Linked DNA regions of Homo sapiens: regions 1 and 2 are each linked to region 3. Evidence: promoter capture Hi-C in human tissues and cell types (Jung and others, 2019). All regions are on one chromosome and are shown on one strand. Each heading gives the region's core, a stretch centred on a gene start or on the middle of the fragment in contact. The rest is flanking DNA. Distances are from core to core; before and after follow the strand shown. Region 1 overlaps ITPRID1 (ITPR interacting domain containing 1). Region 2 has its middle 54 kb from the start of PPP1R17. Region 3 holds the start of PPP1R17 (protein phosphatase 1 regulatory subunit 17).

Region 1 (4,194 bases), core at 450-2,949, 38 kb after region 3:
CCTTTTTTCGCAAACAGGCCCTACTGCTAATATAAGGGGGAGGGAATAGGAAGAGCCCAATATTTGGGTTCACAAAACAACTAGTGACAGTGCTCATCTGCAACAGAAGGGCAGCTGTTGTTGGGTGGCCTTTGGGTGACAATCATTGTGTCCCAGAGGCTGGAAGGCAGTCTGGAGGCCTAGGTGACATAGGGATGCAAGGATGTAGGTAGAAGAGAGGAGGGGAAGTGCCAGAGTAAGGGTTTGTGAGAAATTGAGTCTGTTTAATCTTGTTTAACTTTGTTGCTGGGTACTGCCTCACTCTGAGTATCAATAACATTGAACACATCTGTTCAGCTGGTATGTGTTTGATTAAAGAAAATCTGCTTAGAATAATGTTTATTAGTCTTAGTCCTGCTTAGTCACAGTCCTGGAGGTTGGAATCTGCAGGATCAGCTTCATCCACCTAACAAGCCCACCCTGAGGAAGGCAGGCAAAGGTTAGGCATCCTGTCATCTCCAGGAGTTGGAATCTAGAATTGAACTTTGTCTACGCTTTTAATCCTTCCCATTGCTCCTGATGTAGTCATCGTTTAACTCTTACTTTCTCTCTCAGGCTGTGCCTTTGCCTTGGTTTTCTCATTTAAATATATTCCTGCAGCTCCTGAGAACTTTGGAACTCTCCACTAACAGACTTGACCACCCTCCAGTCTGCCTCCCAGCAGCACAAGGCTGTGTCCCTGGGATGACCTTAACCTCCCCATCCCCCAATAAAAAGCCTGACTGAGAAATCTAAAGGCTGCCAGGAAAATTTACTGTTTGCTTTCGCCAACACCTGACATAGGCCCTTTCTAAGAGTATTTATTAAATGTTGATTATAATTGTAAATATGTATTTCTTACAACTCACAAGTGTCTCTCTCAAGGACCTGAGAGCCACTCCTTTGAAATGTAATCATCTAGAAGGTTTGGGCCTCTGTCCCCGGTCTCTAGGAGGGCAGAATCCTAACTTCAGTTACTGCTGGCTCACAAACACAGTTGGTCTAATGGCATTGACATGGACCAATTCTTTGTGATTTTTCACTTTTCTGACTCTACTGAGCCCCTACTCTTCACCCTCCCTTATTCTCTCTTTAGAATGCCCAAATCACCTCTGCACAAATTGGAGTGGAGCTCAGCTCTTTCCCCTGCTGTCAGTAGTTGCTGAACACAATCTGTTTTCATGGCTTTAACTAAAGCTATTTACCTTTGGCACCTCCAAGCCCAGTCCATTTGCCGGCACTCTGATGACTTGCTGAGTTCTTACCAGCTATCCCCTTTGTTTTGCATCCTGGGTTGGATCATGCTTTGAAATCCATGACCCAGAACTCCAGGGCCACTAACCATTTGACTTTGAGTAATATTAATGCTTGTTAGGCCCTAAAGCCATCTCTATCAGACCCACAGGCTTGGACCCCTTCCCAAAATCAGTGTAGCAGAGGCTGCTAGTTGACTACTCACAATCTTTCTCTCCTTTATTCTTGTTAACAAGAATACTTTAGAGGCATCCATGTGTCTAGCTAAAAAATTACATTTCCCAGCATTCCTTGTAGAGACAATGGCCAGTGAGCTGGGAACAGAGAGCATGCTGTGGGGCTTCTGTGGTGTGCTTTAAAGGAAACTGATCTTGCAGGCTGGCTGTTTTGAAGCTTCTCTTCTTCCTCCTTCCATGGAGACCAACTTTACAGCTAGGTGGACTCCTCTAGCCCTGTTTCTAGGAAGTCTGAGATTTCTTACCCTTCCTCTCTAAACTACATGGCCAACATCCTGGCAGCCGGATGGCTATTTTTACCAGAATTGTCATAATGGAAATACTTTCCTAAGAGTAATGTTTTTATATTGAAAACTCTCCATATTTTGGTTTTGGAGTTTGGTTTTGATTCTATCCTCTCGCTTTTATACTGAATAACGTATTTTGCATAGTAAAGCTCTTGCATCAATTTTGCAATTTTGCAATTACTCTTGCATCAATGTGAGTGAATTTGAAACACTTAGGGAATCTCTGAAGTGATACTGATGTTGGCAGGAATGCTAGATTATGGCTCTTAAGACCAGAAAAGATCTTGTAGACCATGAAGGGCATCTGTTATAGATACGTGTTCTGACATAGAATGGCTAGTTAACTTGTCTGTGGTCAAAAAATGGCAGTAAGATTTCGAACCCATCTCTTGTTTCATTTCTTTTCTTCTAAGATCTGAGTCACAGCAGGGACCACAGTATAGCTGAACACAAGGATAAGTTGCTTGTCCCTTAGCAGCGAGCTGTTTGAGTGGTTCTAGTAGCTTCCCATCAGGTAACCAAGACTTCCCAACTGGTTCAAATTCACTTCAAAGTTCTGGGGACAGTGACGCCAGGATCATGGAAGTGTAGTGCTCAAATAGGCTGAACATCATAAACATTGAATTTTATGCTCATGTAGTTATTTTGGGGTAGCCTTTTGTGATTGAAAGGTATAAGACTGGGGTGTTTTGGTTTGGGAATAACTGATGGAGTGTTTGCTCTCTGAGAATGGTGGAGGGATGTGGAAGATTCTGAAATGCTGCCATCTTCTGGTTATTTGGAAACATGGAAAAACACATTTTAGCCCTAGAATAAGTATAGAAATGATTTCATAATAAAGAAAACTGTAGGTGAGAAAAAAAATAAATAAAAACCCTCAAAAATAGAGTGTTTTGAACATTTCTTCTTTTTCTTCTTCTTCTTTTTCTTACAATATAAAGGCTTGATTATAACCCAAATACCAAATGCAAGTTCTGCTCTACTGACCCAAACCCATTGAAACAAACTTTAACTTCAATGGTAAGAGCACCATCACCAAAAGACAATGAATTTTCACTTTGAATATGCTCATATTACTTTTTCTTATTTGTGTACTTTTACTTTTCTCTAAAACTAAATCATAAACAATATGGAAGCACTTCTAATATTCAGAAATCTTATTTCTGATAGATCTCATTTTCTTTTCTGGAATTTTTTTTGAATTAACACTTTTTAAAATTAACAAATTATCCTGAAGAATTTACCTATATATAACAATTTAGTTATACCAACAAACCATTTTTTTGAATTAACAAATTATTGCAAATAACTCACTTATATGTGAAAATTTAATTATATCAACAAATCATTACCCTAGACAACCCAAAAAGGCCACAAAAATGGCATTTATCAATTAGTCAAATGTTTATCTGCAGTGTTATATATTGCTATATTAGGGGGGTAAGATAATGATGTTTTTGAGTCTTCAAGTCCTTTACCTAAAATTGCTCTTAGTTTCAACATCTGCTCAGAACTCCCATTGTCGTCGTCGTTGTCGTCATCGTCTTCTTCTTCCTCTTCTTTTTTTTTTTTTTTTTTTTTTGAGACGGAGACTCTCTCTGTTGCTCAGGCTGGAGTGCAGTGGCATGATCTCACCTCACTGCAGTCTCCGCCTCCCAGGTTCAAGTGATTCTCTTGCCTCAGCCTTCCAAGTAGCTGGGATTATAGGCACACACCACCACACCCAGTTAATTTTTTTTTTTTTTTTTGTAGTTTTAATGGAGACGGGGTTTTGCCATGTTGGCCAGGCTGTTCTCGAAGCCCTAACCTCAGGTGATCCACCCATCTTGGCCTCCCAAAGTGTTGGGATTACAGGCGTGAGCCACCATGCCTGGCCTCCCATTATCTTCTAAGAGATGTCCATCTCTGCTTATAATCTTCACTTGGTCCAAGAGCTATGTCCTGTTAATATTTTCGTAAATATTTTTTCTAGCCCTGTCTAGCACTTGGCATCTAATTTAAAGCCAATTTTCTTCAGAACAGTTTTCAGGCCTTACAAACCCAGGCTCACTCTTAGTAGATGTTGCTGCATGCACTAACTTGTTCTCTTTGTGCTTTAAATGTCTTTAAGCGGTCTCCTGTCATGGAGGAATGCAATCTCTTATTTCCACTTGCTTTCCAGCACATGCGCCTGTGTGCATATGTATGCCTGCATAGGAGTATAAATATGCACACGTATATGTGTGTATGTTTGAATTGTTTTCTTTGAGTGTATTTTTTTCTATTTCTTTGGATGTTAATAAAGGGAAATTCATTGTCATCTGGTAAAACCTTATATAGCATCCATTTCAGCAGGTGTATGATGTCAAATCAACTGGATATAAAAGTACCTTTTTTTGTATAATTGCAAATTCTAAGAG
Region 2 (4,031 bases), core at 1,165-3,664, 53 kb before region 3:
ATAAGACACACAGTGAGCAGTTTGATTGGCTGGCCAGGTGCTCAGAAGAAGGTTCAAAATAGAACTAGAAACTTCAAAAGGACCACACTACACAATTTCCAAATGTTCCTGGTCCACCTGTCCTCCCCCTCAACTATATTTATCATGACTTTTGGTGGCCTAGGTGGGTTCCGTGAATTAATCTTTGAGAATGTGGAACGCAAAGATCTTAGGGGAGAATGTAACACCAGTGTGGTGTTTCAGTGAAGGAAGATTGGCAAGTGCTGCTTTAGAAAATAATTTTAGAGATAGGGTCTCCTTGTGCTGCCCAGGGTGGCCTCGAACACACCTGGGTTCAAGGGATCCTCCCGCCTCAGCCTCCCAAGTTGCTGGGACTTCAGGTGTGCACCACCACAGCTGGCTTGTGCTGCTTGAATTCGGTTAAAATGTAGTCCCAAGGCTCTAATTCATAAGAAACTTGTAGTTATTAAAAGAAACAGAAACTGCATAGTCTAGGCAGCCATCAGCAAATGGCTTTAGGAAAGTGTTGGCTTCTGAGTTTATGTTACAAACTGGTTAGTGCCGGAAGAGCACAGGACTCAGGGTCTTCATGAGCAAGTGGAAGTCCGATGGGACGTTTGTTCTTTATTGTTTTCTTACTGGAATGTGCAGGATGCGTGTACTCATTGTCCACAAATGTGTACCAGTCTCATTCTCTTTCTTCATGCCTTTATTCCTGATCTAGAATACCACTGATTCATTCCTTTGTTCAATAATATTGGTCAAATTCCTTTCCTGTTTCAGGTGCTAAGAATGCAGCAGTGACTAAAACACAGTCTTAGGTCTCCGGAGCTCTCATCCAGTGGGCAGATAGTTTTAGGAGCAAATAGCTAGCAAACAATGTGATGAGGGCTATGCCTGAGCTGTGAAAACAGAAGTTGTTAACTCTGGGGAGGCTGCAGGAAGAGAATTGGGGCACATGGGACCTGGTCCCTGCCTCCCTCCCCAGTATCTTCTGCAGCCACAGCCATTTTCCACCCCTTATGCCTTTCATGCCAGTCATACCAAAGCTTGTCTTCATCCCTAGGTAAGCTCATTTCTTCCTGATCCCTATGATGAGCCACATTCTGGGAGAATATGTCTGTAACTGCCTAAAAGGAAGACAAAACTTTCTTGCTACAGGCAGGTAAAATATAGGCTGGAATAAAACCCAGTCACCAGAACCTTGTTAGAAGTCTAAAGAAGATGAAAATGGGTAAAAATAACTGAAAATACATGTGAAAATTAAAGTGAAAAATAAGATACAAAGCAGTTAAAACATAGTAGAATGAAATTTAGAGAAAAGTGAAATAATGTAACAATTTGAGAGATTATATTAGTTAAGGAAAGGAATGAGAAAATTGATAATACTGCACATAATTGAGTGGATAAATTTATTTTAGAATAGGAACAGTTAAAGATTAAAAATATGAAGTTAAAATATGGTAAAGGATTGAAGCTGGATAAGGTAAGGTATATATTATGAAACTTTAGAAAGATGTAAAATTCAGCTAAAACCAGTTAATCTAGTTACCATCACCTTATGTAGACTTTCCAAATTTCTCATAAGTAATAATACTCAGGAAAGATAAAATATAAAGAAAAATAGAAATAAAAAAGGTGAAAAGTCACAGCACCACAAAGCTGAGACTAAAAGATCAAAACAACATTATATTATAAATATCGTTAAACAAATTAGTAAACATAAAATGTACAATATGCAATTCTATTTTTTTTTTTTTTGAGACAGGGTCTTTGTCTGTTGGCCAGGCTGGAGTGCAGTGGCATGATCACTGCAGCCTCAAACTCCTAGACTCAAGAGATCCTCCCACTTCAGCCTCCTGAGTAGCTGGGACTACAGGCATGTACCATCACTCCTGGCTAATTTTTCAGTTTTTTGTAGAGACAGGGTCTTGCTACGTTTCCCAGGCTGGTCTCAAACTCCTGACTTAAAATGATCCTTCTTCCTCAGCCTCCCAAAGTGCTGAGATTACAGATGTAAGCCACCGTGCCTGGCCTGAAAATGCAATCCTTGATGAGATAGTGAGGCATTTTTCCTCAATTAGTACATGAATCCATTGCCATATATTATTTATTGCTAGAATGATATGATGTTTCATTTTTAGCATTGAGAAAACTAGTTCACATAAATAAGGATATGGAAATAGAAGAAGTTTTATTATAGTAATGTTCCTTAAATCTTTGAACTCTCTTTGGGTAATGTGTCAAAAATAAGCACATGGTAATCTAGCATTCTGACAGCTTAAATAGATCTTATTTCAATTTTGTTATAAGTGAAGAATTGGAAACTACTTGAGTTGGAGAAGGATTTATAACCCAGGCATTTGAATCATGCACTTTCTCAATTTTTTAAAGTGCACTAAAAGTCTTACTTAGACTCATCAAATGATTATAAATTAGATATCTATATGTGCCTGTCTGCATGTGTATACATAACATATGTATGTTAGTCATTCACTGCTTGGAAAAAAAGAAACATTAGTTATAACACACCTTTGCCAATATTGTTATTTTTCTTGTGTCATGTTGGAGGGTGGCATAGTGGGTGACTTTGTTTGCAGAATTCCCTAAATAGCAGCAAAGAGCCCATTGCCATCCAAAGGAATCCCATGAGGGCAGCTCAAAGAGAGTGGAAATGCCACATTCTAGCCCTTCAGAGCAAAAGGTGCAAGACATGGGGAGACAAGTGCTAGAGAGGCTTACACAGCCAGTATTTCATGGCATGCCTTCCTTTTGTAGAGTGGGAAAAGGTAAGATAGGAAATGACAGCCTGCATGAACGTGTAGGCCAGTTCTCAGGCAGATCGGTTTTGGGAAAGAGAGAGAAAGTAAAGTCAAAAATTAGGAAACTAAATTATTTAAAGTGTTCTACGTCAATGTGCCCTCTGAAAGTTCATGATCCACATGGTGGGCAAATCCCATTTGCAGACTGCTGTTTGAGACCACCATTTTGGGTGCCTAATTGGTTCTCCTTGGGTGAGGACACTAATTCTAGGGTTTTACATTTTTGTTTAGTTGGGGGAGAGGGCAACACTGACTGAGTGTTCACCAAACTGGTTCCCTTTCCTGCACTGAGAGTGTGCTTCTACGTGACCATAAGGAGGACCTCCACTCGTGCACTGGGCTTCTGAGCACACCTCCATTATTGAACTTATTCTGTAGCTCCATGGCTTGCTAGCTGTGTGACCTTGGACAAATGATCCAATCCTTCAAGTAACCACTTTCTTTGGATTAAGTGCATATCCTAGCAGCCGGAATGATTACATTAGAAAATGCACTAAAGCTCATAACATAGTGCCCGACACATGGTCAGTGCTCAATGAATGATTATTTACATTCCCATCAAGATCACGATGCTTCCAGGAGCCTTTATAAAACAAGGGCATTCCCTCTCACCCATGGCGTAGATTTCTAGGGACCCCATGAAGGCTCTCTTGCACCCTACCCTTTCTATAAATTTTCCTTGAACTGGCTGATGCCTGAGTGAGGCTTTATTCCACTCATATAAAGATGAGATCATCACTAAAATTTGCTCCAGAAGAGCTGGTGTGTGTGTGTGTGTGTGTGTGTGTGTGTGTGTGTGTCTAAAAGTTACTGCTGACGTCAATCACTGACGTTTTAGTGAACAGGAAATCTTCCAGAGTTCTGCAAGAAGAACTCAATAGGTAATCAGACAGCATGAGCAGAAGGAAGTCAAGGATTTGAGGATGGAAACAGGCAGGTGGGGGCATTTATAGGGGTGTAGGATGAGGTACATGCATATGTATATGTGGGGGGCAGGGGTGTGGGGGAAGGGGAATGAAGTCAGGAGGGGAACTGGTATTCTCCAAGGAGAACAAACCCGTCCTGAGCATTTCCTGTGAGAAGGTCTCCATGGCACAGGCTTTCCTGTGCTAGTTCATCACATACTCACCACATCCTGAGGCAGCCATTACCATCCTGGTCTACCTGGGAGAACATGCAGGCTGAGAGTGCTCTGTGCCCCGCTTCAGG
Region 3 (4,300 bases), core at 1,283-3,782:
AAGAAAAGAACAAGCAAGTGGAGGGGAAAGACATTTGGAGTTTAGTGTTGGCTTATTGATAATTTTCATAGCCTGTTAGTATAATGACCCCATCTCTCAACTCACTCTCCATTTCTATCCTCAGTGAGAAGGGGCGCTCTTTATGAGTGAGCTGTTTTAAGACATGAGCCGGTCTAATTCTTGACATAGGAAATGGAATATTTCCATTTCCTATTCCTGACTCTACCCACGCCTTCCTCTCTTTAATTCAGTCTCTACCCCAAGCAGGTGTCATAAAGGGATGCTGCACTTGTTGGGCTGCCCAGGGAAGGTTTCATCATCTCCCTGTAACTTGGGAACTTTCTAAGGCACCAGCTCTTTCTTTCATGCCTGCATAGTTGGTCCTCTGCATCTTCAGAATTCAACCAAAAAGCTAGGGCCTCCAGAGAGGCTTGTTGTCTAATACTTCACATTTGGGGGTGTTTTCATAAACTGTGTCTACTACAAAGACTTGTGACCTTTTTAACATCCTCTTTCCACTTATTGGTTCAGTGTGGGCTCTGAATTCTAACACTCACACAGGGACGTGGACTGCCACTGTCATTGCAATATTGGCCACCCACCCTTGTGACAAGCCTGGAGTCAAACGTGCTGTGGAAATCAGGACTGTTTAAATTATATAACAGCTCTAGAGGGGTCTCAAGGAGCACCAGCAGTCACATCCATTATTTCTGCAGCAAAACTATGAATATTCACACTAAGTGACATAAAGACAAACCACAAAAAATTCACATTCTTTCAGGTCAGGCTTTGCTACCAAATGAGTTTGTGTTGAACTTAACAACAAACCTTTTGGTTTTCAAAATGTTTCAGATTTCTTAATTAGAGAATGAAAGAGTATTGATCGAATTACTCTTCTGGTTGTGGTTGTTTGACAGAATGTAGGTATTCAGTGTAGTATGCAAGAGACCAAGAGATATGATTTCAGGGTTTGAGAAAGGATTTCAGGATTTCAGATTTTAAACTCTTGTAACTTCCTCTTACTAATCCTTACCTTCCTTTTCACAAGGGACAAAACCTTTCTTTTTACAGAGAGATACTTGTAAATGCAAATACCACTAAGAGCAGCAATATGTAAATTGATGTCACAATACACAGGGATTGTTAATGACAAAGGTCACCTTCTCTTTTGAGAACAGGAACTGAAAGGGGGAAGGAACTGGGTGCCAGAAAAGGGACCCCACTATATTGCAGAAAGGCAGGCACACCAGCGGAGCTGAAACACATTAGTTGGTTCAGTGTGTGGTCAGAAGCTGGTCTGGATTTTTTGTCTTTTCTCTTATCATTGAGCGGTTTTCTCAGTTGGATGTGAGAATATGCGGTTTAAATTATGGGAAGAAAATTCCTCTCAACTTTAAGATTGGATGCTGTGAGTCAATATAAGGTAGAAGCCAACGTTTGGCTGCTTGTACCACTCTCTAGCTGGGTGAACTTGGGACAGTTATCTGTTCTCTCAAAAATTTAGTTTTCAAATCTGTTAAATGGGGGAAGATAGTGGCTCTTCTCCAGGGTTGTTGAGAGTATTACCCATAGAATGTGCATGGAGTCCCGAGCCCAGGTCCTACACACTGATATTTTCGTGAGTGTGAGGGACCTTCTTGGATCTTTCAGTCCTCCATTTGTGATTATATGTCTATCTAAATTGATCTATCAGAATTATCTCTTTATCCCATCTCTGGCCTTCTCTGAAGCTGGTAATGAGATGAGAATAGTTCAAGACAAAAACCAACCCATTTCTAAATCTTGGGAACATAATAGAACTGATTCTCAGAAGCGAGTTGACACTTAGCTTACCATACGGTATTCTGAAGAATATCCCCCAAAGTAATCAGGTCTTGATTTACTGGATGGAATAAAAGGGTAGAAGGTTGTATCCACAGCCTATGTGGTATCTCGTTAATGCACCCTCTGGCTATGTAAAATACATATTCATTGTCAAACCTCTTTTTAACCAGAGGATTGAATTCAGGTCAAAAAGTACCGTCTTTTAAAATCAGATTTGTTCATTTAGAAAACCTAAATTGGCAGTATTCCTGGAGGAGAGACTGACTTAAAGTAGGGCATGGAGAATGTGTTTTGAGAAGCATACTTTCTGTACTTTCCCCAGCCTTGGAAGATAAACCTCTCTATCCTGTGTGAATATGCAGATACACCAACTTCATCTTGAAACTTTGCAAATGAGTTTGTGAGGGTTCAGTCTTTTACAGAACTCCATTCCCTCCCTTGGAAGAATGACTTGAAAGTGGTAACTTTTTCTGCTGTCCACTCGGCCCCAGCTTAGCCTTGCTCCATAAAGCACAACCCCGTGCCACCAGCTACAGCCTTCTTTGTCCCAGTAACTGACTGGAAACTTGCTTTTCTCACCACAAAAGTTCTTGGAGTAAAAATCTGAAGCACTTACCAATCAGCGCAGATGCAGGGAAGCGAAGGCGAGAGACAGGGAGGGCGTGTGTGCTCACCGAGGCTGGGCCTGGCTCCTCTGCGGCAGTGGCTGCTGCTGGCCGGCTCCAGCTCCTCTTATCTAGGGACCAGCTGCTGCTGTTGCCATGGGGATGCTCTGTTTCACAGGCACCAGGGCAAGGGGGATGGAGAAGGAAAGAGGACTAACATCTCCATCGCTGCTCTCCACGGCAATCATTGTACATTACAAAAGTACAGTATAGAGTCGTGCTTTGAGTTTCCGGTGTGCACACCAGAGAAATTCAGACAAACCAGCTACATCATTGAATTCCCATGCGATAGATTTTTTTTGGCCTGATTTTGTAAATATGGAAACTGAGGCACAAGAAGTTAAGTGATATGCCCAAGAGAGGCCACAGCTAATTTCGACTCTCAAAGCTATTTAAGTTTAAATCCAGAGTACTTTCAATCACTATTGCTGCTTCTCAAAGTACTATCATGAGGAGGAAGAGAAGGGTAGCTACTGCTAACATTTATGTAAGGCTACCAAAATGCCAGACACTCTTCTAGAGACTTCACACATATCTACTTACTTAACCCTCAGGCCAACCTTGTGAGATGAGCTACAGTCATCATCCCATTTTATTGATGAGGAAGCTGGGGCTCAAGAGTTACCAAATCATCTGACCAAGGTCTCCCCACATGGTGAAGCTAGGGTTTGAATGGGGTAATGAAATGCTAGGGTCCACGCTTGTAACCACTTTGCAATACCTCTCAGCAAAGAGAGCATTTCAAACAGCACATAGCAAAGAAAGCAGCCCCCAACTCTATAGGTTATAGTGTGCAGGCCAGAAAAAATTTCCTCCTTCAAAGGAACAAAGCCAAATGTACCAATATTAGGAATACGTAGGCACTCAAGAGTGGATGTTTAAGCAAGGTGGGAGAGGCGGGAGACATGCTGTCTTTTGGAGAGGAAGGTTCTATGTTTTGGGTCTGCTCACTGGAGGAGAGCCCACTGGGGTTTGGAGGAGCAGCAGTTTTGACTCCAAAGCAGGAAGGCCAGTCTGGGAGATCAGGTAGGTATCAGGACCCACTAGAAGGGCTCCAGACCCCCTGATAGCAGCCAATGGACCACCCAGTGATGCCCAAGAAATATGTTCTCACAGAAGATACGTGAGCACCATCCACACATCCATATTTTTTCCAGTCTTACCTGAGGTTCCCTGCAGAGCAGGTCCCTGGCAACCCCTTGGTTTCAACTGCCTGCTTGCCACTGGCAATGTGTTTGTTGGTGCCTCCCTCCCACTTGCCAGGATCCCAAATAACAGGGCTAGAACCATAGTAAACTCACCAAGAGGTTGACTCCTAGGGTTAGACTTTTGCCATGGTAACAGATAAGCAGAGAATGGACTTCTTTGCCTGTTCCATTTTGTGTTGATCCTTATTGGGACCTCCTGGGAAGAGATGAGGGTTGCTGAAAGGTGATGCTCTTGTCTAGGAAGGGAAGGCCCTAGATGTTGAGGGACAGGGCCTAGAAGCAGGTCTGTGTTCAAAACTGCCTGCTTTATCTTCTTCATTTTTTAAATTTTATTTTATTTTCAGTGCTGGGACACATGTGCAGGACGTGCAGGTTTGTTACATAGGTAAACGTGTGCCATGGTGGTTTGCTGGACCTATCAACCCATCACCTAGGCATTAAACCCTGCCTTACTTTATCTTCTTAACAACAGCCTTGTTGGCCAATGAGTTAGCAGCATCTTCAGTCCACACTTGAGTGGAAAAGATATACTTTCCTTCTGAAATCCTTGAATTCTTCTTTTGAATTAAACTGTTTTGAGGTAATAGATCTACATGTCGTTGT

What was found. Contacts are between HindIII fragments. The study calls those that stand out against the background at their distance.
Region 1: a fragment that was not itself captured here is called in contact with the fragment with the promoter of PPP1R17 in region 3 in 5 of the 25 tissues and cell types used here (adrenal gland, heart left ventricle, liver and 2 more).
Region 2: a contact is called between a fragment that was not itself captured here and the fragment with the promoter of PPP1R17 in region 3, in 2 of the 25 tissues and cell types used here (hippocampus and neural progenitor cells).

The regions. Positions count from the first base shown.
Region 1 is chr7:31,646,857-31,651,050 of GRCh38, reverse strand. The region is part of intron 12 of ITPRID1 (ITPR interacting domain containing 1); the gene reads right to left. It also overlaps a transcript of PDE1C not described here. Among named protein-coding and RNA genes, the nearest start is that of PPP1R17, 38 kb to the left of the region's middle. The HindIII fragment of the contact is 6,446 bases long and covers 1-4,194 here.
Region 2 is chr7:31,738,792-31,742,822 of GRCh38, reverse strand. It overlaps a transcript of PDE1C not described here. Among named protein-coding and RNA genes, the nearest start is that of PPP1R17, 54 kb to the right of the region's middle. The HindIII fragment of the contact is 9,356 bases long and covers 1-4,031 here.
Region 3 is chr7:31,685,447-31,689,746 of GRCh38, reverse strand. It overlaps PPP1R17 (protein phosphatase 1 regulatory subunit 17), which reads right to left and starts at 2,532. Exons shown (of 5, transcript NM_006658.5): 1 at 2,441-2,532. It also overlaps a transcript of PDE1C not described here. The HindIII fragment of the contact is 11,578 bases long and covers 1-4,300 here.